Regions from separate parts of the Homo sapiens genome. Here all the other regions are linked to region 4. The links are contacts of gene promoters, found by promoter capture Hi-C in blood cells and fetal thymus (Javierre and others, 2016). All regions are on one chromosome and are shown on one strand. The core of a region is centred on a gene start or on the middle of the fragment in contact, and the rest is flanking DNA. Distances in the headings are between cores, read along the strand shown.

Region 1 (4,360 bases), core at 778-3,277, 440 kb after region 4:
ATAAGTGGGAGTTGAACAGTGAGAACACATGGCCACAGAAAGGGGAACAACACACACCAGGGTCAGTTGGGGGGGTAGGGAGGAAGAGGAGGGAGAGCATTAGGACAAATAGCTAATGTATGCGGGGCTTAAAACCTAGATGACGGGTTGATAGGTGGAGCAAACCACCATGGCACATGTATACCTATGTAACAAACCTACATATTCTGCACTAGTATTCCGGAACTTAAAGTAAAATTAAAATTTTTTTTTTTTTTTTAAAAAGAAAGAAATGGCTTTCCTGGTAGGCAATTGTCAAGGAATGAAGTTTAGGAGGAGGAAGAACTCCAAGGTCTTAGTCTCATATGGATCATGAATATGGATATTGAGTTCACAAAGGTTGTTGTAAAGGGTAGAAAATAAGGAATATGACTAGATGCTAAAAATTATCCATGTGGGTAGAGATGAGATGGGAGTATAGTAGATTAGAGGTGCTGAAACATTTTAGTCTAAGGACCCTTTTAAACTCTTAGTAATTAACAAGGACCCCAAAGAGGTTTTGTTTATATGGATTTTATCTATCAGTATATACTGAACCAGAAATTAAAACTGAGAAAAAATTTAATATTTATGCATTAATTTATTTTAAAATAATAAACCTATGTGTTAAATAGCATATTTTCTATGAAAAATATTTTTCAGATAAAGATCAGTTTAGTTAGAATAATAATATTGTTTACATTTTGTAAATCTCTTTCATGGAAGAAGCTTACTTATCTGCTATATTTAATTGATTGCAATATATTGTTTTGGTTGAAATATATAAAGAAAATCTGATGATATGCAGATAAGTAGTTGGAAAGCAAAGAGTATTTTAATAGCTTTTAAAGATAATTGTGGATATTCATCTTTGATACTATGCCAAAACTTGGTGTGTTGGTGTCTTAAAGTTAAGTTGCATTGTGGGATCTGAAACCACATCAATAAACATTTTGCTTTTATTTTCAAATTTGTTTTATTATTATTATTATTATTTTAGTTTTATTCCTGGCAAGCTGTGAAGTTTTTTATACTAGTACATTAAAATCTATTTGTTTACCTTGAATTTTGAATGGATATTTTGTATGTTGTATGGGGAAGAGAAACCTTTTCTCTACCTTCTTATGTTCAGAGATTAGGGCCCGAAAATTAAACTGACAAAATGTTATACAACCAACAAGTTTATATGACCACTGTGCAGTAGTAGATCAGTTACATTGAAACAGCAGGGTTTGCAGCAGAGAAAGAGTTTAATGATTGCAGAGCATTGAGTGAGGACATGGGAGGAGACCCTCAAATCCATTTCCCCTGAGGAGTTATGGGCTGGTATTTTAAGTTTTAAGGGGATTGTGGAAGGTAAGGGGCGGGAAAATTGAGGTCGTTGATTGGTTGGGATACGGGGGATGAAATCATCAAGATGTGGAAACTGCATTCTTTGGTGAGTCAGCTCCTCTGGGATCCTTCAGACCAACTGGCGTCAGTGGGGTCCTTCAGACAGGCTGATGTCAATAATTTCACTGCTATGCAGGATCTGAAAGAATATCTTAAAGGGAAAACTTAATGTTTTATAATGTTCATGTTGTCTATAGAACACTTAAGGGGAACTTTAATCTCGTAGCAGGGTCTATGTGATTCTGAGGCAGCAGGCGCAAAACACTGGTGAAGTAGCTAGTCAGAGAGCAAGCTGACCTCATGATAAACACTGCATGTGCTGCAAGCCTCGTTTATTTTCGTTTCTCCCCCCTCTTCTTCCCCGATGAATTTCATACAGTTTATAGGGACAGTTTCAAAATAACAGATTAACAGGAGGGAAAAACAGTTTATTTACATGTGCAATGTGCATACACATGGAAGAACTCAGTGGTGGGTAACTCAAAGGAGTAGTTAGTTAGAATTTGGGGCCAATATGCTATCTTACTAGATGAAGGGGAGAGAGGAGAAAGCCCCTAGTACTGGGAAAACAAATGACTTCTTTTTTTTTTTTTTTTTTTTTTTGAGATGGAGACTTGCTCTTGTTGCCCAGGCTGGAGTGCAATGGCACAATCTTGGCTCACTGTAACCTCCGCCTCCTGGGTTCAAGAAGTTCTCCTGCCTCAGCCTCCTGAGTAGCTGGGATTACAGGTGCCCACTACCACACTCGGCTAATTTTTTTTTTGTATTTTTAGTAGAGACGAGGTTTCACCCTGTTGGGCCAGGCTAGTCTCGAACTCCTGACCTTAGGTTATCTGCCCACCTTGGCCTCCCAAAGTTCTGGGATTACAGGCGTGAGCGACCGTGCCCAGCCATGGCTCTTTTTTTTTTTTTTTTGAGACAGAGTTTTACTCTTGTTGCCCAGGCCAGAGTGCAATGGCACAATCTCAGCTCACTGCAACCTCCGCTTCCCGGGTTCAAGCAGTTCTTCTGCCTTAGCCTCCCAAGTAGAACACAGATGGGCGCCATGATGTCTGGCTAATTTTTGTAAATTTTTTTTTTTTGTAGAGACGGGGTTTTGCCATGTTGGCCAGGCTGGTCTTGAACTCCTGACCTCAAGTGATCCACCCACCTCAGCCTCCAGAAACAACTGAGATTACAGGTGTGAGCCACTGCACCTGGCCTAGTGGCACATTTTTCAAGATAGGCCATATGATAGGCTACAAAACAAGTCTTAATATTTTTTAAAATAGAAATAATATTAAGTGTTTTCTCAGACCCTAGCAGTATAAAACTAGAAATCAGTTTGAAGAGGAACTCTCAAACCTATAGAAATTAGAAATTAAACAACCTGTCCTGAATGATCTTTGAGTTAACAATGAAATCAAGATAGAAATTAAAATTTTTTAAAAATGATTGATAACGGTGACAGAAGTTATCAAAATCTCAGATACAGCAAAAGCAATACTAAGAGGGAAGTTTATAGTGCCAAATGCCTTCATCAAAAAGACAGGTCACAAATTGACAGTCTAATAATATCACACCTCAAGGAACTAAAAAAACAGGAAGAAACCAAACCCAAAGCTAGCAGAAGAAAAGAAATAACAAAGAACAGAACTAAACAAAATTGAAACCAAAAAATACAAAGGATCAATAAAATTAAAAGTTGTTTCTTTGAAACGATAAGCAAAAATAATAGACCATTAGGTAGATTAGCTGTGAGAGGATTCAAATAAACTTAGTCAAAAATGAAAATAGAGATACCATAACTGATACCACGGAAATAGAAAAGATCATCTGAGACTGCTGTGAACACATATATGTATACAAACCAGAAAACCTAGATGAACTGGATAAATTCCTGGAAACACACAACCCCCCAAGCTTGAACCAGGAAGAAATAGAAATCTTGAACAGACCAATAGCAAGTAGTTTGATTGAATCAGTAATTTAAAAAATCTCCCAACCAAGACATCCCAGGTCCAGATGGATTCACAGCCAAATTCTACCAGACATTCAAAGAACTGATACCAATCCTACTGGAACTATTCCAGAAGATCAAGAAGGAAGGAATCCTCTCTAACTCATTCTACAAAGCCAGTCTCACCCTGATACCAAAGCCAGGAAAGGACACAACAAAAAAAGAAAACTGCAGACCAGTATCCCTGATGAACATAGATGCAAAAGTCCTCAACAAAGTACTAGCAAAACCAAATTGAACAGCATATCAAAAAGATAATTCAGCACAATCGAGTGGGCTTCATCCCAGTGAGGCAAGGATGGCTCAGCATACACAAGTCAATAAATGTGATTCACCACATAAACCGAATTAAAAACCATATGATCATTTCAATAGATTTAGAAAAAGCATTTGATAAAATCCTGTATCCCTTTGTGGTAAAAAAAACCCTCAACAAATTAGGCACAGAAGGAACATACCTCAAAATAATAAAAGCCATATATGACAAACTCACAGCCACCATCATACTGAAGAGAGAAAAGCTGAAAGCATTCCCCCTCAGAACTGGAACAAGGCCGGGCACAGTGGCTCATGCTTGTAATCCCAGAGCTTTGGGAGGCCAGTTCAGGAAGATCACTTGAGTCCAGGAGTTCCAGACCAGCTTGGGCAATATAGTGGGACTCTTTCTCTCAAAAAATTAAAAAATTTGCTGGGCATGATGATACATGCTTATAGTCCTAGTTACTCAGGAATTTGAGGTGGGAGTTCAGGAGTTCAAGGTTACAGTGAGTTATGATCATGCCAGTGTACTCCAGCCTGGACAATACAGTGAAACCCTCTCTCTAAAAAAAAGAAAATAAGAAAATAATTTCTTAACCATTTTTGCTATTGTTGCATGTAGTTCCTTTTGTTAGATCCCAGTGAGGTGAATGTGGCAAAAAACCCAAAGGAAAAGATTTTTTGTTTGTGAAT
Region 2 (4,120 bases), core at 301-2,800, 340 kb after region 4:
AGTGAGACTCCATCTCAAAAAAAAAAAAAAAAAAAAGTCTAATTTGTCTTATAAATGCAATATATGTGGCCAGGCATGGTGGCTCATGCCTATAATCCCAGCACTTTGGGAGACTGAGGTGGGTGGATCACCTGAGGTCAGGAGTTCGAGACCAGCCTGACCAATATGGTGAAACCCCGTCTCTACCAAAAATACAAAAATTAGCTGGGCGTGGTGGCACATGGCCTGTAATCCCAGCTACTCGGGAGACTGAGGCAGGAGAATTGCTTGAACCCAGGAGGCAGAGGTTGCAATGAGCTGAGATTGTGCCACTGCACTCCAACCTGGGCAACAGAGCGAGACCCTGTCTCCACCCCCCGGCAGATAAAAAAGCAATATATAAATATATATACATTGTAGAACATTTGTAAATCTTTTTAAATATAAAAAATAAAATTTAAGAACCACTCACAATCCATTATTTTTTATTTTTTGGTACTACTCTATATTTTTAGAATTAAAGGAAAATGATATACAATATGTGTTATTTTTAAAATTGTAATTCAAAGATAACTACTGCTAAATTTTATTTTTAAAATTTGCCCTGCTTTCTGGAGACATTGCTAAATGTTTAGTACAATTTTTTTCTATTTTTCTATGCATGTCTATATGCATTTGGAATATATACGGTTTTATTTACTTATTTATTTTTGAGACAGAGTCTTGCTCTGTTGCAGCCCAGGCTGGAGTGCAGGAGCATGATCTCAGCTCACTGCAACCTCCGCCTGGTAGAGTTAAGCGATTCTCCTGCTTCAGCCTCCCCAGTAGCTGGGATTACAGGCACGCGTCACCACGCCCCACTAATTTTGTATTTTTATAGTAGAGATGGGGTTCACCATGTTGGCCATGGCTGGTCTCGAACTCCTGACCTCAAGTGATCTACCTGTCTTGGCCTCCCAAAGTGTTGGGATTACACGTGTGAGCCACGGCACCTGGCTCTATATACTGTTTATTTAGTGTCATATCCTGAATTCTCTGCTTACGTGTCCTGTGAAGTCTTAAGCATCATTTTTGATGCCTTCATGATAGTGCATTTAACCAATCCCTCATTATGGATATCCAAGTCATTTCCTTTTTGCTTTATATTATAAATATCACAGTGATAAGCGTAGCTGCCCAGGTATTTTTATCTGTGCTTCCTATTTCCTTAGGATAGAGTCCAGAAGTGGAATTACTGGATCAAAGGGTATAAAGCTCTCTAAGTTTCTTGAAACAGTGCCAAAATATTTTGTAGAAAAGTTTTCACCAATTTACACTGAAGGTCAGTATCTTTCAATGAGTTTTGTAACTGTCTCTGAGAGAAGAGGGGAAACAGCCCGGCAAGCTTGGAAAGCTCGGAAGGCCGTCCCTGCAGTTGTGTGGCCCCTCTAGAGGGAGGTGGGAAAGGCATGGGGATTCCTCCTGCAGTGCTGCCTCCGTTTCCCCTCCGCCGGTAGGGCCACCGTCCTGTTTCCTAATCCTTCGAGTTTTTCATTTTTTAAGATCCCCGGAGAAAAAGTGGCCCAGGGTTGGACGATGTTAGTTGTAAAGGTGGTGGTGGGGGTGGGGGAATCCTTATGTTTGAGCAAATGTAAGAGTTGTTCAGCAAGAACCCAACACTTGGAGATTGTTAACAGAAACATCTGCCTATTCCAACGTGAGTTTCAGAGATGGTGAAAATCACGGGAGAGAGTTGGGTAGGAGTTGGAGAAGGCATTGCAAGCTTTCCCCTTCAGCTAGACAGCTGCAGCCCCTTTAAGGGCAAATGCGGGACCTGGTCCTTTAAATCTGTGTCAGTTTCCCCTGACGTCAGCGGGCGGGCCAGCAGCCCTGCTGTTTATCGCCCAGCGGCGCAGCTCACTTTTCAGTGTTCGTGCGTCGGGACGGCGCGTCCGCCCGCCCTTAAAGGGCCCGCACCTCGGAAAACTCGCAGCCCAGCACGGCGTCGGGTAGCTACCACCTATCACGCCCCTCACTCTGCGACTCGCCTTCCTCCGCGGCCAGCCCCCGCCGCCGGCTCTTCCTCCCTCCCCTTTCCCGGCGTCTCCAGGCTCCCGGCAACCAGCCGCCCTCCTTCTCACGGCCCTGGCCCGGGGCTCCAGGGTCTCAGGTCGTACTCAGCCCCTCGCGAGCTGGGACCCCTTCCCGTAGCCAGCATCCCCTCCCTCCCCGCCCCCTCCCGGCCGCCCCCTCCCCTGCGGGGACCCTGGGAGCCTCTTCGGGGCTCTTGGGAGGGGACATTTCCTAATCTCAGGCCGGGGTTAAAGTTCTGGTCCTGGTGAGATGCTGGAAGCTGCGGCCGCAGCCGCAACCCGTCCCGGAGGTGTCCTGTCTCCTGTCGCCGCCGCCGCCGCCACCACCGCTGCCACTGCCGCCCTGCCGGGGCCATGTTCGCTCTGGGCTTGCCCTTCTTGGTGCTCTTGGTGGCCTCGGTCGAGAGCCATCTGGGGGTTCTGGGGCCCAAGAACGTCTCGCAGAAAGACGCCGAGTTTGAGCGCACCTACGTGGACGAGGTCAACAGCGAGCTGGTCAACATCTACACCTTCAACCATACTGTGACCCGCAACAGGGTGAGGGCTGGGGGCTTAGGGGCCAGAGGCGAGTGGGGAAGCCGACGAGGGCTAGGCGATTCTGCCGCCCCGCTACCCTTTTGGGAGGCCCCAGGAACGAGCTGTCCTGCTAGGTTCCCAGTTCCCAGAACCACACTGGAGCCTCTTGACCAGTCCTCCTTCCTTTGCCACCAATGTTTCTCTGAAGCTCCAGCTGGGCAGTTTTTGAAGTTGGCTCATTCCCATCTTCTCTTCCGCCCCCATTCTTCCATCAGTTGTGGTCTGAGCACACATGGCTTGCTCTCTACCCTAAACCCCAGAATCTGACAGCTCTGTGGGGTCTCGGTGGGAGAGGAAACAGGCTTATTACTGGGCTTGCCCAGAAAACCTCAGGGGAATGAGACTGGCCCAGAACTGAAAAGCTCTGTGCAGGCAAGTTACATCTCAGACTCCCCAGGGAGATGAATGCAGGGCTTCCCAGCCCTCTTCCTGCCTGGGAGAGCCAGCTGGCCTTGTAAATTGAGGGTGACAGAGGTTTTATAAGGCCAACTGCAAGTTGGGTGGGAAGAGAAGGGGAATTTGTCCACTGTGAAAAATCCACTTCACCCTGACTTCTCTTTGGTTTCTTCACCAGCTGTGAGTCCCTGAGTTGAAATAGACACAGCTAGTGTGGGAAGTCTAGACCCCAGGCAGAGCTGAGATTGGGAGAATTCTTGCAACCTGGCTGTGTGGTCTCGTGCCCGGGTCTCTTGCTCTCTCTCCATGACTGCCGTTTACTGAGAAGCAATGGAGTTGAGAATGGGGAATCTGATTTTTTTTCAGAACGGGGAGTGGTTTGGTTTCTGTGGCAGGCCAGGATCTGCCCCCAGTGCCTGGTTCTCTGAAGTTTGATCTCTTTCTGCTTAGAGTCCTTTCTTCCTTTTTTCCCATATCTAAAGGCACTGGAGAGCTGTGGTTTTTACTCTTTTGGGAAATGCTGCCCTAGGGCTTGGGTTTCAGCAGCCCAATAACAAGCATTCCAAGATCGATTTGGTTTTATTTTTCCTTTAAGCTCCCATTGTTTATATATGTTCCTTCATAGCTCCAAGGGTGAAGATCACTTTATCTTTTTTTTTTTTTTTTTTTTTTTGAGACCAGTCTCACTCTGTTGCCCAGGCTGAAGTGCAGTTTTGTGATCTCAGCTCACTGCAACCTCCGCCTTCCCGGTTCAAGCGATTCTCCTGCCTCAGCCTCCCAAGTAGTTGAGATTACAGGCGCCTGCCACCATACCCAGCTAATTTTTGTATTTTTAGTAGAGATGGGGCTTCACCATGTTGGCCAGGCTGGTCTCAAACTCCTGACCTCAGATGATCCTCCTGCCTTGGCCTCCCAAAGTGCTACAAGCGTGAGTCACCGCACCCGGCTGTCATTTTATAGAGGGAGAAGTTGAGGCTTAGAGAAGTAAAGTGACTTCTCCACAGCCCTGTCCCTTGGTGGGAGCTAAGGATACAACATGGCCTTCAATACCTACCCCTCCTCAACTCCTCTGGGCTCTGGCCCCAGGTTAGCTGTTA
Region 3 (4,209 bases), core at 1,534-4,033, 380 kb after region 4:
CTTATTATGTGGCCTTTGGTAAATTGGAATTTTTTCAACAGTCACTCTCTGTCCCAGAAGACGCCAGGGTTCTATTTGCCCATAATCTTTTTCTTTTCTTTTCTTTTTCTTTTTTTTTTTTTTTTTTTTAGACGGAGTCTTGCTCGGTCACCAGGCTGCAGTGCAGTGGCATGATCTCTGCTCACTGCAACCTCCACCTCCCAGGTTCAAGCAATTCTCCTGCCTCAGCCTCCCGAGTAGCTGGGACTACAGGAGCCCGCCACCATGCCCAGCTGATTTTTTTGTATTTTTAGTAGAGACGGGGTTTCACCATGTTGGCCAGGATGGTCTCGATCTCCTGACCTCGTGATCTGCCCACCTCGGCCTCCCAAAGTGCTGTGATTACAGGCGTGAGCCACCGTGCCTGGACTATTTGCCCATAATCTTATGGAAGCTATGCTCTAGTTTCTATCCTTTCCACTGGTGAAGGATCAGAATAAGAGATTTAGGTCGAGGACTCATTTGTGGAGAGGTGGTAGCTAAGGTCATAAACATAGCTGTACTGTCAAGGAGGATGATGTAGAGTGAGGAAAAAGTCAGGAAACAAGCCTTAGAAGACACTCACAGTTCAGGAGTATGAAACAAGTACCTCAGGCAGAGAAGGCAGAGGAGGGCTATGGAGCCAAGAAGGCCGCCACAGAAGCTACAGGAGGAGAGACGTTGCAACAAAGACCTCATTAATAGGGTCAGAGTGACAAGAATGTTAAAAAGGATGAACTCTGAACCAGCCCCTGAACCGGTCAGGAAAGGGGCACTATGAGTAAGAAAGCAAGTCTTCTGTGGCAGAGGGAGTGTGTGACAAAGGGGAGAAATTGCTTCAGTTCATTCATTTGAAAAGTTGCCTGGTTGGAGGTAGCAGGGACTTGCATTTGAAGGCAGAAAGGAAGAATCAGCAGAGAGGGAAATGTTGGTTAAAGAGGGAAGACCTGGAGAGGAGAAGGAACAGGACTCACTGCGTAGGCAGAGGCTTAGCCAGTATCCTCAAGACTGCAAACGACAACAAAAGGAGAGGTGCAAGTGGGTGTTCAGGCACCTTCCAATCACAGACTCTCTGAGTGTGAATAACACACTCCTCCAGAGCCCCACTCTCCCTCCTACCCTCAGGTAGAGATTTCAGACCAGCGTCAGATCTAAAAACCCCAAGAGGCCCCAATCCCCTCTCCCTCATAACCTCCTGTCAGCGGGGAGAGAGAAAAATCAGTCTTGCTCTTTAGCAGCACTTCTCAATATGGTAGCCCTTAGCCACACATGGCTATCTAAATTAAAATGAAGTATAACAAAATTAAAATTTAGCTCCTTAGTCATACTAGCCTTATTATTATTATTTGAGATGGAGTCTTGCTCTGTCATCCAGGCTGGAGTGCAATGGCACAATCTTGGCTCACTGCAACTTCTGCCTCCCAGGTTCAAGCAATTTCCCTGCCTCAACCTCTTGAATAGCTGGGACTACAGGCACGTGCCACCATGCCTGGCTAATTTGTGTGTGTGTGTGTGTATATATATATATATATATATATATACTTTTTTTTTTTGAGATGGAGTCTCGCTCTGTTGTCTAGGCTGGAGTGCAGTGGCACGATCTTGGCTCACTGCAAGCTCCGCCTCCCTGGTTCACGCCATTCTCCTGCCTCAGCCTCCCGAGTAGCTGGGACTACAGGCACCCACCACCACGCCTGGCTAATTTTTTTGTATTTGTAGTAGAGATGGGGTTTCACCGTGTTAGCCAGGATGGTCTCGATCTCCTGACCTTGTGATCCACCCGCCTCAGCCTCCCAAAGTGCTGGGATTACAGGCGTGAGCCACCGTGCCCAGCCAATTTTTGTATCGTTTTTTTTTTTTTTTTTAGTAGAGTCGAGGTTTCACTCTGTTGGCCAGGCTGGTCTTGAACTCCTGACCTCAAGTGATCCGCCCCTGCCCTTGGCCTCCCAAAGTGCTGGGATTATAGGCTAGGTATGAGCTACCACGCCTAGCCTATTATTATTTTTGAGACAAGGTCTCGCTCTGTCACCCAGGATGGAGAGTGCAGTAGTGCAACCATGGCTTACTGCAGCCTTGGCATCCTGGGCTCAAGGAATCCTCCTGTCTCAGCCTCCCAGGAGGCATGCACCACCACACCTGGCTAATTTTATTTTTTGTAGAAATAGGGTCTCACTATGTTGTTCAGGCTGGTCTTGAACTCATGAGCGTAAACAATGCTCCTGCCTCAGCTTCCCAAAGGGATTACAGGTGTGAGCCACCATGCCCGGCCAACTGGTCATGTTTTAAATGTTCAATAGACTCAGATGACTAGTGACCACTGAACTGAGCAGCATGGACATGGAACAGTTCCATCATTGCAGAAAATTCTTTGGGACAATGCTACTCTAGAGTCTTAGAGGTATTTAGCCTCCTCTTCTATCTCAGGGATGTTCAGCTCCCTCTGCTTTATAAAAAGTTCACTTTCCAGCCCCCAGACACTGAATCAACCAGGTCCTGGTGGAAAACAACCATAACTTGGCTGTAGAAGGGGTTTCTTGACTTCCTGGGACTGAGCTGCTCAACTCTCAATTTTTTTTTTTTTTTTTTTTTTTGAGATGGAGTTTCCCTCTTCTTGCCCAGGCTGGAGTGCAATGGTGCGATCTCAGCTCACTGCAACCTCTGCCTCCCGGGTTCTCCTGCCTCAGCCTCCCAAGTAGCTGGGACTACAGGCATGAGCCACCACACCCAGCTAATTTTGTATTTTTAGTGGAGATGGGGTATCACCATGTTGGTCAGGTTGGTCTCAAACTCCTGACCTCAGGTTATCTGCCTCCCAAAGTTCCCAAAGTGCTGGGATTACAGGCATGAGCCAGGGCACCTGGCTCAACTCTCATTTTAACTGGACTTATTTCTTTCAACCTCCAAGCAAGCCCACAAACTTATTTGTTCTGTTTTTGTCTGCTCAGAGGAAAATGTGGTCATGTTGGAGGAGAAGGCAACTTCACTGGCTCTGAAAAGCCAATGAAAATAGTACTTTGCAAAAAGTTGTGAATAACTCTGCATGTCAAAATTACTCAAGGCAAAAAAACAAAAACAAAAATGAAACAAAACAAAAAATCCCCCAAGGAGCTGGGGGTAGGGAAAACTCTGGTAAAACTTTTGCTTGCTGCCCTTCCAACAGGTAAAGGGCTCCATTAGCCAAACTCCCTAAATCTTTCCCTCCCTTCTCTTAATCCTGCTTTCTCCACTAGGCCACCTCCCACTCTTCTCCACCCAGGCAATCTGTCCTTCTTTCTCTTACTTTTTAGTGACAAGCAAGCAGTTGCCAGATGCCTCAATGCCTAGGGTAGACATTCCGTGGCAACGTCCCCTGGTCAGCAGGAAGCAGAGGATGACGAAGCTGGGAAGACCATATTACTCTTTTAAGTCACTGCCCTCATTTGACAGATGCAACAGGAAATAGCCCTGGATAGAAGGTAAAGTTGAAGGCACACTATCTCTAAGACACGCAAGTGCAAAGCCAGGGGCTTCCAAATGAACTGCATTCCTGGAAATGTTTCTGAACTTCTCTGACTTGGCTGACGCTTTATGCCCTTTCCAAGATAACATTCCTTTTATGGGAAATGCAGTGACTGGCCCAGGGGTTTCATTCCACATTGAGGGAAATTGGGCAAGTGCTGGATGTGGTTAGGAGGAGAAAACTCAATTCTTCTCTGTGAAACCTTCACCTGAGGGAAGCCACCCCTCATCCTCCCTTCTGAGTAACCTTCTCTGGCCATTCCTTCTCCTGCCATGGCTCTCAATTGATCACTTTCTAGGAGGACAGAAAAAGTGAAGACAGTTTTGGTTTGGGCACTAAGCATAGCATACTTCCTTTGCAAAAAGTAGTAAATGACTCCAGGAAAAAGAATCCCCCAAGGAGCTGGGGGTAGGGAAAACGCTGGTAAATGTGCAGACAGGGCATCCTCTGCACAAGCATCCTGATCCAGCTGCACTCTCCTCTAGGGAGGGCGTCCGCCTCTTCGCTCAACATAAAACCAGGTCGCTGGCTTAGAGGATACAACCCCTTCAGACAATCCTGGTTCATGCTGGCCACCATGGAGGCGGAGGCAGAGGATGGGTCACTAAAGCCTAGGAGACTTCTACAAACCCTCTGTCCATCCCCAGCAGACCACATCTGACTCTCTCTATTAGGTAAGCCAGAGAATCAAA
Region 4 (3,369 bases), core at 1-2,500:
GGTGGAGGTCACGCTGTCCCAGTTGTCAAGGAGCTTTAGGCTGGAGGGTGAGACAGAAGGGTTGAGGGCTGGCCTCCCAGCGCCCCAGCCTATCAGGGGTGAGCCCTGGGTGACACCTGTCCGCGGAGGTGCAGTGGCCTAGCATTTCCAGTACACTCTCAACCAACACCCCTGCCCCGCCAGGCCATGCCCCGTTGTGCAGCTGGACCGAGGCACAGAGAGGAGCTAAAAAGGAGACAGAGCTGGGACTAGTGCCCAGTTACGTTGGTCTCCAAAGTGGGCCCTTGAAGGACCTCGCTTCTATGCCTCCAGCGCATTCTCCTCTCCGAAGACAGCCCACAGTCTTGCTGGGCAGGAGCAGAGGAGGTGGTGAAGAAGGGAAAGGGGCTTGCTACACTTGCAGGCACAATGTGGCTCTGTGATCACGCATCGGGCAGCCCTGGTCTGTCCTTTGCAGGGGACATGGGCTGTGACCCTGCCTGGAGATCCCATTCCAGTTTCTCCATCCAGACCATCTGTGGGGCCCAGCTCATCAGATATTAGGTGAGGACTCGGCCAGTCTGGCTTCAACATCATCCCACAGGCCTCTGCCCCCTACCCCTGCCCTCAACCCCAGGCTGGGTCCTTACTTTAGCTGTTTTCCCAAGGCGGAGCCTTCAAACTGGGACACATAGTCTCTGCCGCTGTCTTTGAGCACATCCACGTACACAGTGGCCAGGTCCTTCACTCGATCCCAGGGGCTCTGGGGGGGTTCATCTTGCTGCCAGAAATGCCGAGCCTGGCTCCCTGAGGGTGGGAGGGGAGACCCAGATCAGGCCAGCTGTGGGCTGAGATCTGAGCCGAAAGGCCAAGCTTGGAGGTGGGGGAGAGGGGGCCAGTGAGAAACCTGCTGCCTCTGCCCAGGAGGGTGGGCCACGGGGATTTAGGGAGAAAGCCCCCCGATGGTTGGCTCCCTAGGTTAGGGGACACCTACCCGTCAGGAAGAGCACGGCCAAGGTCAGCACCGCAGCTTTCATCCTGAAGGGCCGTGGGGGACCTGGAGGAGAAGAAGGGCCTGGCTGAGTGGGGTGCCTTCAGCATGCAGAAGCCCCGTGCTCCCCCACTCATTGCAGCCAGGTGAGGAGAAGGGCACAGAGCGGGAGAAGACCTCAGGTACCCAGAGGCCCGGCCTGGGGCAAGGCCTGAACCTTGAGCTGGGGAGCCAGAGTGACCGGGGCAGGCAGCAGGACGCACCTCCTTCTCGCAGTCTCTAAGCAGCCAGCTCTTGCAGGGCCTATTTATGTCTGCAGCCAGGGTCTGGGCTGGGAGGCTGATAAGCCCAGCCCCGGCCCTGTTGCTGCTCACTGGTCCTGGCAATGTGGAACTTAAGAGTTCAAGGATCAGCTCTGTCCCTGGGGCTGGGCAAATAGAGTGGGCAAACAGCAAGCTGCGGGGGCTGCAGGGCAGGGGTCAAGGGTTCAGTGGGGGCGGGAGGGGAGTGTCTGCAGGCTTGCAGGTCTCCCGGGTGGGGTCGGGGTTCCCTGCACTCATCCCCTTCCCCTCCATGGGAGTGTGTGGGCAGTTGCCATTGTCCATTGTGTTGGCAGAGGAGGGGAGGGGAGGGACGCTGGGACTCCTCCACCAAGGAGACTGCCTCCCCCACCACCAGCATTCCAGGGAGACTACTTCACTCCCCTCCCCCTTCCCCCGCCCTGTCCTCCCACCAGTGCTCTTCTTTAGTCCCCAGCAGGTCCTCCAGGCCTCTCTCCAAGCCTCCCAAACTGGTAAACCTGGGGAGAGGGGAGAGCCCTCCGTGGCTCCCAGACTGAGGTTTCGGAGACCTCTTGCATTTCAAAACACTCCAGAGATCAATTCGGAGCTGCCAACTTTTAATTTTGTCATGTAAAGATATTGTCCGCCTCCAAAAAACCCTCACCATCTACAGTGACCATCACTTCAAAAAGGAAAGGCTTTAACAAAAAAGGGCATAATCTCAGAATTACATTACAGAATTGAAGCCCCTTAGATTGAAGACGTCTCCCTTTGCATTGTTCACACTTATATTTGATCACGCACAGGTGTGACTGGATCTCAGCCCTTGGGAAGCCCTGGTGTGGGGAGAAGACCTCTGGGCAAAGGAAGTGGCAGGAGACCTGCTTTCTCATTTCACTTGGCCTCCATCTTGCTGGAGGAAGATCGTGGGCAAGTTATATAATCTCTCTGAGCCTCGGTTTTCTATCTGCAAAATGGGGCAAGAATGGTCAGGGTTGTTGGAGGCCCCTGAGACAGCCTGTGAATGTAAAGTGCTGTGTGTCCGTTGGTGTTTGCAGCACCATCTTGTCAGGTTTCTCCTGGAAGGCCCAGACCTCCCCCAGCAGGTTACTGATAGGACCTGAGTCCTAGAGCCTGTGATGCAGGCTGAGAGGAACTGTGACATCACTCCAGCCTCTCCCCATGCCACCATCTCACAGATGAAGAGACTGAAGAGCACAGAGGGACTTTGCCCAGAGGCTGTCATCTCTCAGGGAGTTAGAAGAAAGGCTGGACCTAGAACCCAGTCTCTGGACTTGGGATGCAGGGCAGAAATGTACCCTGTACCATCACTCCAGGAAACTCCCTAACACTAGAAACCAGGCTGACATCTCTGTTTACCAGATCAGGGAGTGGTCGGCCTCATGCCTTTCACTTCAGAGAAGATTCTGGAGCCAGAAAACCTCAAATCTAAGGGTCAGGCAGGTTCAAATCCAGCTGCCTGACCCTGGATGAGTTATGATACATCACCTCCCCACACATCAGTTTCTGATTGAAGATAATGATAGAATATGCCATCGCCCTGAGTTATGGCAGGGGTTACTGTGTGGCAAGCAGAATAACGCTCCCCAAAGATGTCCACAGCCTCATCCCTGGAACCTGTGGCTTTGCTACCTTCCATGGCAAAAAAAGATTTTGCTAGTGTGATTAAGGACCTGGAGATGGGGTGGTTGGCCTGGATTCTCCAGGTGGGCCCATTGTCATCACAGGGGTCCTTAATTATACAAGAGGGAGGCAGTGGCCTCAGAGTCAGAGAAAGAGATGTGAGGATGGCAGTGGAGATCAGACTCGTGACTGCTGGAAGGGGGCCATGAGCTGAGGGACATGAGCAACCCTTCCCTAGAAGCTGGAGAAGGCAAAGGATTTTTCCCTGCAGCCTCCAGGAGCACAGCTCTGCTGCCACCATGATTTTAGCCCAGTATGACCCATTTTGGACTTCTGTCCTCCATAACTGTAAGATAATAAATTTGTATCGTTTTAAGCATGAACTTTGAACATATATGCAAAACTGTTAGAAAGGTACCTAGCACTTAGTAAACAGTAACTATTCTGTTTTCTAGAATCCCAGTTTCTGGTAAT
Region 5 (4,134 bases), core at 1,171-3,670, 480 kb after region 4:
TTGGAGGTCAGTTTTATATGCTGGTGTATTGTTCTGGGTGAAAGCACCTAGAACAATTAACCCTCACAACTTAATCCTCACAATTACCTTGCAAAGGAGGTCTCATTTCCTACTCATTTTAAAGATATGACAGTAGTTTCAGAGAGGTTATGCAATTTGCCCAAGGCCACACAGCTGAGAAGAGGAAAAGCTGTGGGTGGTAGAGCTGGGATTCGTGGACTGTCTGACCTCAAAGCTTGTGTGGGTTCTGCAGCCCCGTCCTGCATCGTGCCATGGGGTCCATGCACAGTGTGCACAGCATGTCAGTCGCAGAAACAGGAGTAGGTCCCAGGTCTCTGCATACCTGCTGCTCCCTGACGATATCATCTAGCGTTCTGTTTGCTCAGGGCCTGGATTTGGCTTCTGTCCTGCCCTCCCAAATTCCCACTGGAGACTACTGCTGGGGAAGTTATGGTGCACAGGAAAGAGGATGAGAAAGTGGGGAAGACCAGGCTTTCGACTAGCTGAGAGGTAGGGCTGGGGAGCACGCACCTAGGAAGGCTGGCTTCTGTAAAGTAATTGGGAGGTGGGGGTTTGTGTTTCTCCCAGATCCAGCTGTCTGAGAAGTTCAGGAAAGTGTGGCTGTCCCCTCCGCCCACCCCAAACACACTCCCACCTTCACAGACCCTCCCAAGGACAGACTTCCCAGACACAGATCCGGAGGTGGCTCACAGATGTGCAGGATCAGATTCAAGGTGACACGCACCAGCATACACAGAACCACAGGGCTGCCCGGGCCCGGACTGCCCCACAGAGGCGGCAGATGCACACAGAGGTCAGCCACAGCACCCCACATGGAGGGCTGCTCACCCACAGAGGTGCAGAGGGTGCCACCTCCACCAGCCACCTTGAAGGTACCTTGGAGATTGTCAGGAAGGATGGGGAGGGCATAACAGTGTTTTCTCTGTAACTCCCCTCTCCCCCGCCATGGAAGGAGTCCCACTCTTAAAAGGGAGCTCTGGCTCCTTTCCTACCATTTGTTCTTTCACCAGGCTCAGTTCAGTTCCCCTCTGGCCTGGGGAGGTGTGGGGTGGGGGAGGGGCCGGAGTGTAGACCGCGAGAGGGAGAAGGGGAGGAGGAGGGGACGGCAGGAGCCTGTCCAGGGCTTCCGGGCGGAGTGCAGTCAGGGGGGCCTCGACAACCTCACTTTGCCGTACCAGTGGCAGCCCAGATGGTGGGAGCAAGGTGCTTATTCAACTGCTGCCAGGATTCCTTGGTCCTGGAGGTACTGGGAACAATGGTGGGAATCAGAGGAGGGGACAAGGTTGGGTGGCCAACCTCTAGAGTGGTGGGATTTGGGAGACTCGGACTGGGCCACTGTCAGAGGGGGCTGACACCTGTTATAGTGCCCCTGTGGCGGACCCTTCCTCCAGGTCAGGGTCCCCAGCTGATGTGTCTGTCTTGCCTCAAATCCTTCCAGACGGCGTATGTGTCAGATGAGGAGCAAGGGGAACTAGGCAGCCAGGGGAGACGAGGAGGGAATGGGGAGCTTGGGAACACTTCTGCCAACAACCACGTGACCCCCGGGGAATGGCTGGGGAGGGGTCCCTCCTGCTGTCCCCACCAGCCCATTTGAGCAGGGGCTAGCTTGAGGCATCCCCATCCTGTCTCCCCTCTGCTCATGCAGGCGGAGGGCTAAGGGCTGGCCTGACCACCTTACCGTCTGCGGGGGGCTGCCCACGGTCATCTCCACGTAGTAGCCCTGCCCCGACTTGCCCCTCAGGTTGTCCACCATCTCCACAAAGCTGCCCCTCCGGCCGGGCTCCTCGGGCTCTTCGTCGGTCTCCCGGGGCAGCCGCAGCCCCAGGGGGGCGCCCCCCAGGCCGCTGCGCAGGGGCAGCCGGATGCCGTGCTGGGTGCCGTGGGCAGGCAGCACTCCCGCGCCCATCCACAGCAGGAGCCAGGGCAGGGCTTGGGCCATGGTGGGCCCCGGCCTTCGGGCCCTCTGGGCTCGCACTGGCCCACGTCCGTCCCTGGCGCCTGCCCCCAAGTCTGGGTGGTGCTGGTGGCTTCTCAGGAGAGGGAGCTTGGGGGCATCAGGACGCCAGGGCCTGCAGGGCCCTGGGCCAGCCCCCGGGTCCGGGCTGTGGAGAGCGGTCAGGGGAGATCCGCAGAGCACGGGAGCAGGGGAGAGGCTGGGATCCGGAGCCCGCTACATCGGCACGGCGGCGGCCAGCCTGGGCAGCGGGCGCGGGCTCCCGGCGGGGCTGGGAGGGGCGGGCATGGCGGGCCGGTGGCGGCTTCCCTGGTCCCCCCGGCGGGCGGCGGCGCGGGCAGGGGCAAGGGCTCCGGGCTCCTGCGGCTGCGTTGGCTGCTCAGGCCACCATAATCCAGCTCGCGGCTCGCAGCTCCCGGGCGGGCTGGGGAGGCGGAAAGACTTGTGGCGGCGGCTGTCAAAGCCAAAAGGTTTTCGCTTTTCCCTGGGATCGCTGGGAAGTGTAGTCTTCCCATGGCAGGCAATCCGGCTTCCGGGGCTGGAGAGGGGTCTGGGATGCCCTCTGCCGAGGTGGAGTCCGCCCTGCAAGGCCCTGGCGGGAAGGGCCAGACGGATGGAGAGGGGCACACCTCCCGTCTGTCAGTCTTTCTTTCAGCATGGAAGGAGCACCCACTGTATGCCAGGCACACTGCCAGGCGCTGGAGATACAGAGAGAAATAAACGGTGATTCTACACGGGACAGTTAAGTGATTCCTGCCGCGGTGGGGTTTCACACTATACGATGTGGCATTAAGGAGTAGGGATTTGGAGGGACATCTAGGGGATCTGGGAAGACTCAGTGGGAGAAGGTGGTATTTAATTTGAGCGTTTAAAAATGGGTAGGATTTTCACGAGCAGAGATTGAGGGAGCAGGATGAAAGGGGAGGAAGAGTTTTTCCAGGCTGCAAACCAGCGGAGCAGGGTCCAAAAGGGGAAAGTGCAGTTGTCTTATTTTCTCCTGCGCCTGCGATCTGCGGGCAGGTAAGAGCCAGTGGGTCTTCTCCCATCTGAACCTGTTTGTGCCCTTGAGGCTCTACTTGAATCCTTATGGCTCCTCTGATTTTCTGCACCATCAGCCAGACTGAGGAGAAATGGCTGTTGATAGCTTTAAAGTGTTAACACTCCGAAAAGTATCTCTATATTAACTGGTAAGAGCTTAAAGCCTTGAACCAAAAGCGTTAGAGTTCTAATAGCTTAAAGGAGAAAAGCCGGTATGGTTTTAACAATATATTGTTTATCAAATGTGGAAAGCCATTGATAAAATTCAGCAGTTACTCTGATTTAATTTTTTTAAAAAATGAAAGGGAATCTTCATTTTTCTTTTGAAAAGGAGACTTGCTCTGTCACCCAGGCTGGAGTGCAGTGGCATGGTCTCAAGTCTGCAACCTCCGCCTCCCGGGTTCAAGCAGTTCTCATGCCTCAGCCTCTGAGTAGCTGGGATTACAAGCATGCGCCACCATACCCAGCTAATTTTTGTATTTTTAGTAGAGATGGGATTTCACCATGTTGGCCAGGCTGGTCTCGAACTCCTGGCCTCAAGTGATCCGCCCACGTCGGCCTCCCAAAATGCTGGGATTATAGGCATGGACCACTGTACCCAGCCAGGAAACTTTTTAAACAAGATAACGACAACAACAACAAATGTAGTAATAACAGGCTACGTTACTCCCATTAAAGGCAGGCTTTGGAAAGGAAAGATCATTATCTCTACTCTTTTTTTTTTTTTTTTTGAGAAGGCGTCTCGCTTTGTCGCCCAGGCTGGAGTGCAGTGGTGGGATCTCAGCTCACTGCAAGCTCTGCCTCCCGGGTTCAGGCTATTCTCCTGCCTCAGCCTCCCGAATAGCTGGGACTACAGGCGCCTGCAACCACGCCCCGCTAATTTTTTGTATTTTTAGTAGAGACGGGGTTTCACCGTGTTAGCCAAGATGGTCTCGATCTCCTGACCTCGTGATCCTCCCGCCTCGGCCTCCCAAAGTGCTGGGATTACAGGCGTGAGCCACCGCGCCCGGCCGATCATTATCTCTACTCTTATCCTACACGGTTCAGACCGGTCTGATTGACTCAAAAGACAAGAAAATGGAAAAAGTGTTATATATGTTGGAAAGCAAAGGAATCATTAG
Region 6 (4,519 bases), core at 1,913-4,412, 360 kb after region 4:
GGCTTGGCCTGGGACAGCCATGGGGTGGCATGGAACCTTGCAGCTGCCCTCTGCCGAGGAGCAGGCCTGCTCCCCTGGAACCCCCAGATGTTGGCCAAATTGCTGCTTTCTTCTCAGTGTTGGGGCCTTCCATGGGCCCCTGTCCTTTGGCTCTCCATTTGTCCCTTTGCAAGAGGAAGGATGGAAGGGACACCCTCCCCATTTCATGCCTTGCATTTTGCCCGTCCTCCTCCCCACAATGCCCCAGCCTGGGACCTAAGGCCTCTTTTTCCTCCCATACTCCCACTCCAGGGCCTAGTCTGGGGCCTGAATCTCTGTCCTGTATCAGGGCCCCAGTTCTCTTTGGGCTGTCCCTGGCTGCCATCACTGCCCATTCCAGTCAGCCAGGATGGATGGGGGTATGAGATTTTGGGGGTTGGCCAGCTGGTGCCAGACTTTTGGTGCTAAGGCCTGCAAGGGGCCTGGGGCAGTGCGTATTCTCTTCCCTCTGACCTGTGCTCAGGGCTGGCTCTTTAGCAATGCGCTCAGCCCAATTTGAGAACCGCCTTCTGATTCAAGAGGCTGAATTCAGAGGTCACCTCTTCATCCCATCAGCTCCCAGACTGATGCCAGCACCAGGACTGGAGGGAGAAGCGCCTCACCCCTTCCCTTCCTTCTTTCCAGGCCCTTAGTCTTGCCAAACCCCAGCTGGTGGCCTTTCAGTGCCATTGACACTGCCCAAGAATGTCCAGGGGCAAAGGAGGGATGATACAGAGTTCAGCCCGTTCTGCCTCCACAGCTGTGGGCACCCCAGTGCCTACCTTAGAAAGGGGCTTCAGGAAGGGATGTGCTGTTTCCCTCTACGTGCCCAGTCCTAGCCTCGCTCTAGGACCCAGGGCTGGCTTCTAAGTTTCCGTCCAGTCTTCAGGCAAGTTCTGTGTTAGTCATGCACACACATACCTATGAAACCTTGGAGTTTACAAAGAATTGCCCCAGCTCTGGGCACCCTGGCCACCCTGGTCCTTGGATCCCCTTCGTCCCACCTGGTCCACCCCAGATGCTGAGGATGGGGGAGCTCAGGCGGGGCCTCTGCTTTGGGGATGGGAATGTGTTTTTCTCCCAAACTTGTTTTTATAGCTCTGCTTGAAGGGCTGGGAGATGAGGTGGGTCTGGATCTTTTCTCAGAGCGTCTCCATGCTATGGTTGCATTTCCGTTTTCTATGAATGAATTTGCATTCAATAAACAACCAGACTCAGTTCTTGGGGCCCTTGTTTGCACTCCCTCTGGGTGGAGCTGTTGAGGATGAGGGGAGAGGCGGAGGTCTTCCATTTCCCCATTCTTCAAGCCATGGCCCTACTGGGAACTGCAATTCCTTGATTCTCCCGTTTTTCCTGTCCCTCCAGCAACAGCATTAATTCAGTAAACATTTACCGGGGCACTGTGCTGGACAGAGGCCAGTTCCTGGAAAAGCCTTTCCCACGCCATCCCACTGCAGACATCCCTCCTTACCTCCCCAGGAACAGCAGTCTCTGCCCACCTGGCCCCGCCCACCAGACTGAGGCTCACTTCACCTCTGACCTGAGCGGCCCCCAGCTCACCAAGCCACAGGCCCAAGCAGTGCTCCCTGATGCGGCGTTTATAATCCGCTCAGCGTGCAGGCCGAGGCAGGAGGGTGATGAAAGCTGGGCAGGCTCCAAGAGGAGGGAGTTTTGATATGTCCCTGAAAGATTCATTTAGACTTCAGTCGGCTAAGGAGGACATGATTTGGGGGCCAAGGAATCTGTTGAATTCAGAACACAACCAGAGGTCTGCAGGGTCAGGGATGGAGGAGTGGGCTTTCCCCTCGCCAGGGCCCACTCCTCTTCCTGCTTTTCCTGCAGGCGCCACTGGGAGGTGCTATGGCTGTGCCTCCCCTGGGCTCTGGAGCATGTCCAGTTGCAGTGGGCAGAACTGCGGAGGCGGGCCCCTCCTCTGCCAGGCCTGGCAGCCCCCTCCTAGGGCCTTGTTTGGCTAGGGGTGGTGCCGGGTGTGGCAGTGTGTGTGTAGTGGAGAGTGTTAGGTCTTCCCTACCAGATGCCCTTGCAGGGGAGTGCCACAGCAGTCAGTCCAGGGATCCCACTGTTAGTCTCACCTTTTTTAACCTCTTATCTCTCCCCAAGATCCCTGAAGCCAGGTACGAGCAAGATGAGAGTGGGTTATCTCTGGAGTGACAGAGGCTGGTCTGTTTTCCAGGCTGGTAGGGACTGTTCCTAAAGGGAGGAAGGGATGATACCAGCCTCCTGAGCCTCCTTCTCCTGCGTTAGTGTCTCAGGCCCTGCCAGGCCTTATAGACCCTCTTATTGACACTGCCCACTGGATGGGGACCGGAGTTGGACTCAGCTTCTGCCGAACCCTCAAATCCCAGCCCCAACTAAAGCATATAACTCAAGACCTACCTGCACTGAAAGCTCTTCTCAACCTGAGCAGGGTGGTCCAATTGAAAGGGTGGGTCTGACCACCTCTCCTGCACCCATGCGGGTTGGCAGAGGTGTGCAGGATCTGCCACTTACCATTCACCATGTGGCCTTGAGGAAGACGCACTCGGGGCCTCAGTTTCCTCATCTATAAAATGGGGATGTAATTACACCCTCACACTGTAGCTGTGAGTATTCAATGAGAGCACTGCAAAGGGCCTGGTGTGGAGTAGGTCCTCAGGAAAGGTTGGATCCCATGTCCCATCAGAGCTAAAAGCCCCAGGAGGAGAGGGTGGCTGGTTTGTCCCCACAAACCCCTGGGATTCCCGGCTCCCCAGCCCCTTGCCCCTCTCTCCAGCCAGACTCTATTGAACTCCCCCTCTTCTCAAACTCGGGGCCAGAGAACAGTGAAGTAGGAGCAGCCGTAAGTCCGGGCAGGGTCCTGTCCATAAAAGGCTTTTCCCGGGCCGGCTCCCCGCCGGCAGCGTGCCCCGCCCCGGCCCGCTCCATCTCCAAAGCATGCAGAGAATGTCTCGGCAGCCCCGGTAGACTGCTCCAACTTGGTGTCTTTCCCCAAATATGGAGCCTGTGTGGAGTCACTGGGGGAGCCGGGGGTGGGGAGCGGAGCCGGCTTCCTCTAGCAGGGAGGGGGCCGAGGAGCGAGCCAGTGGGGGAGGCTGACATCACCACGGCGGCAGCCCTTTAAACCCCTCACCCAGCCAGCGCCCCATCCTGTCTGTCCGAACCCAGACACAAGTCTTCACTCCTTCCTGCGAGCCCTGAGGAAGCCTTGTGAGTGCATTGGCTGGGGCTTGGAGGGAAGTTGGGCTGGAGCTGGACAGGAGCAGTGGGTGCATTTCAGGCAGGCTCTCCTGAGGTCCCAGGCGCCAGCTCCAGCTCCCTGGCTAGGGAAACCCACCCTCTCAGTCAGCATGGGGGCCCAAGCTCCAGGCAGGGTGGGCTGGATCACTAGCGTCCTGGATCTCTCTCAGACTGGGCAGCCCCGGGCTCATTGAAATGCCCCGGATGACTTGGCTAGTGCAGAGGAATTGATGGAAACCACCGGGGTGAGAGGGAGGCTCCCCATCTCAGCCAGCCACATCCACAAGGTGTGTGTAAGGGTGCAGGCGCCGGCCGGTTAGGCCAAGGCTCTACTGTCTGTTGCCCCTCCAGGAGAACTTCCAAGGAGGTGAGGAGTGTGTGAACGCACCTGTGTTGGAGCACGGTGTCCCACTCTGGCGGGTCCCCAGGGCCTGAGCAGCAGCGATAGCCCTGTGACAATGTGAAGGGCCACAGAACTCTTGTATTCCAGTCAGGGGCAAAGAGTGGAGACGGAAGGCCTGTCCTTCTGACAAGCAGCCCCTTCCACTGTCTGACAGTGGGAGGTCACCCCCACTGTAGCAGAGGGGTGGGGGGCGGGTACTGCCAAGGAGGAGCTTTGGAGTGATAGGCGGGGCAGGCCTGGGACCCTTGGTCTTTCCCAAAGGGTGGTTCCCTTTCGAAGTTGCTATTCCAAAGGTAGCAGTGAGGATGGCACACATTTATGTAGCCAGGCCACTCCTGTTTGTCCGTGGAGTGGAGAGGAGCCACCCTCCTGCCCTCTCAGAGGTCCAGGTGTGCTCACTCCTATTTGGGAAGAGAGAAGGGGCACAGCAGCCCTGCAGGGGCCCCTGGCTCTGCTCGTGTTTCTGGGCTTCTGCTGGTAGGGGGTGCCACCTTCCCGTTTGACCCTGGACTTTCTTTCTCCACTGCCCACTTTCACCCACTGGGCAGCTCAGGGGAGGGGTCCTGGCAGGAGCCACAGGGCAGGAGGGTCCATGCCTGTCCATGCTGTCCTGGGAGTGTCTTGAGATGCCCCTGGGGGGGCCGCCCTGTAATCATCCTCCTCTCCCCCTCCCCACTGGCTCGAAGGCAGGACTCGGGAGGCTTCATCAGAGGACTCTAAAGGATTTCTGGGGATTCTCCACTTTTCGACCCTGACCCAGGAGGAGGAAGGGGAAGGATGGTGGTGCTGGGTGGGAGTGGGGATGGTGTGTGCTTCATCCCCCTCTGACCGAAATCCTAATCTTGTCTCTAGATCTGGGGG

The links. Contacts are between HindIII fragments. The CHiCAGO score rates a contact against its expected background, and 5 or more counts as called.
Region 1: a contact is called between a fragment that was not itself captured here and the fragment with the promoter of APOA1 in region 4, in 8 of 17 cell types (total CD8 T cells, total B cells, naive CD4 T cells and 5 more). The highest score is 8.8, in total CD8 T cells.
Region 2: a fragment that was not itself captured here is called in contact with the fragment with the promoter of APOA1 in region 4 in 2 of 17 cell types (total CD4 T cells and activated CD4 T cells); the score reaches 5.2 in total CD4 T cells.
Region 3: a contact is called between a fragment that was not itself captured here and the fragment with the promoter of APOA1 in region 4, in 13 of 17 cell types (total B cells, naive B cells, total CD4 T cells and 10 more). The highest score is 14.1, in total B cells.
Region 5: the fragment with the promoter of BACE1 here is called in contact with the fragment with the promoter of APOA1 in region 4 in 1 of 17 cell types (erythroblasts); the score reaches 5.5 in erythroblasts.
Region 6: the fragment with the promoter of TAGLN here is called in contact with the fragment with the promoter of APOA1 in region 4 in 6 of 17 cell types (total B cells, monocytes, M0 macrophages and 3 more); the score reaches 6.0 in total B cells.

Annotation. Positions count from the first base shown.
Region 1 is chr11:117,272,367-117,276,726 of GRCh38, forward strand. All of the region lies in intron 6 of RNF214 (ring finger protein 214), which reads left to right. Among named protein-coding and RNA genes, the nearest start is that of BACE1, 42 kb to the right of the region's middle. The HindIII fragment of the contact is 2,565 bases long and covers 746-3,310 here.
Region 2 is chr11:117,176,859-117,180,978 of GRCh38, forward strand. SIDT2 (SID1 transmembrane family member 2) reads left to right here and starts at 1,885. Exons shown (of 26, transcript NM_001040455.2): 1 at 1,885-2,588. The coding sequence starts at 2,406. It also overlaps a transcript of PAFAH1B2 not described here. RefSeq lists a silencer at 1,984-2,193 and an enhancer at 3,174-3,243. The HindIII fragment of the contact is 378 bases long and covers 1,362-1,739 here.
Region 3 is chr11:117,213,848-117,218,056 of GRCh38, forward strand. All of the region lies in intron 12 of PCSK7 (proprotein convertase subtilisin/kexin type 7), which reads right to left. Among named protein-coding and RNA genes, the nearest start is that of PCSK7, 16 kb to the right of the region's middle. RefSeq lists an enhancer at 3,661-4,209. The HindIII fragment of the contact is 9,653 bases long and covers 1-4,209 here.
Region 4 is chr11:116,836,372-116,839,740 of GRCh38, forward strand. APOA1 (apolipoprotein A1) reads right to left here and starts at 1,251. Exons shown (of 4, transcript NM_000039.3): 1 at 1,234-1,251; 2 at 974-1,036; 3 at 630-786; 4 at 1-40. The coding sequence starts at 1,016. It also overlaps APOA1-AS. The HindIII fragment of the contact is 2,883 bases long and covers 851-3,369 here.
Region 5 is chr11:117,313,836-117,317,969 of GRCh38, forward strand. BACE1 (beta-secretase 1) reads right to left here and starts at 2,421. Exons shown (of 9, transcript NM_012104.6): 1 at 1,700-2,421. The coding sequence starts at 1,960. RefSeq lists enhancers at 287-809, 810-1,331 and silencers at 1,860-1,969, 2,060-2,149. The HindIII fragment of the contact is 5,304 bases long and covers 234-4,134 here.
Region 6 is chr11:117,196,208-117,200,726 of GRCh38, forward strand. TAGLN (transgelin) reads left to right here and starts at 3,163. Exons shown (of 5, transcript NM_003186.5): 1 at 3,163-3,225. LOC100652768 (a long non-coding RNA gene) reads right to left here. Exons shown (of 8, transcript NR_045215.1): 2 at 3,644-3,705; 3 at 2,530-2,581; 4 at 2,112-2,229; 5 at 1,579-1,700; 6 at 1,023-1,197; 7 at 801-939. It overlaps SIDT2 (SID1 transmembrane family member 2), which reads left to right. Exons shown (of 26, transcript NM_001040455.2): 26 at 1-1,235. RefSeq lists enhancers at 1-387, 1,720-2,383 and a silencer at 1,786-2,080. The HindIII fragment of the contact is 9,715 bases long and covers 1-4,519 here.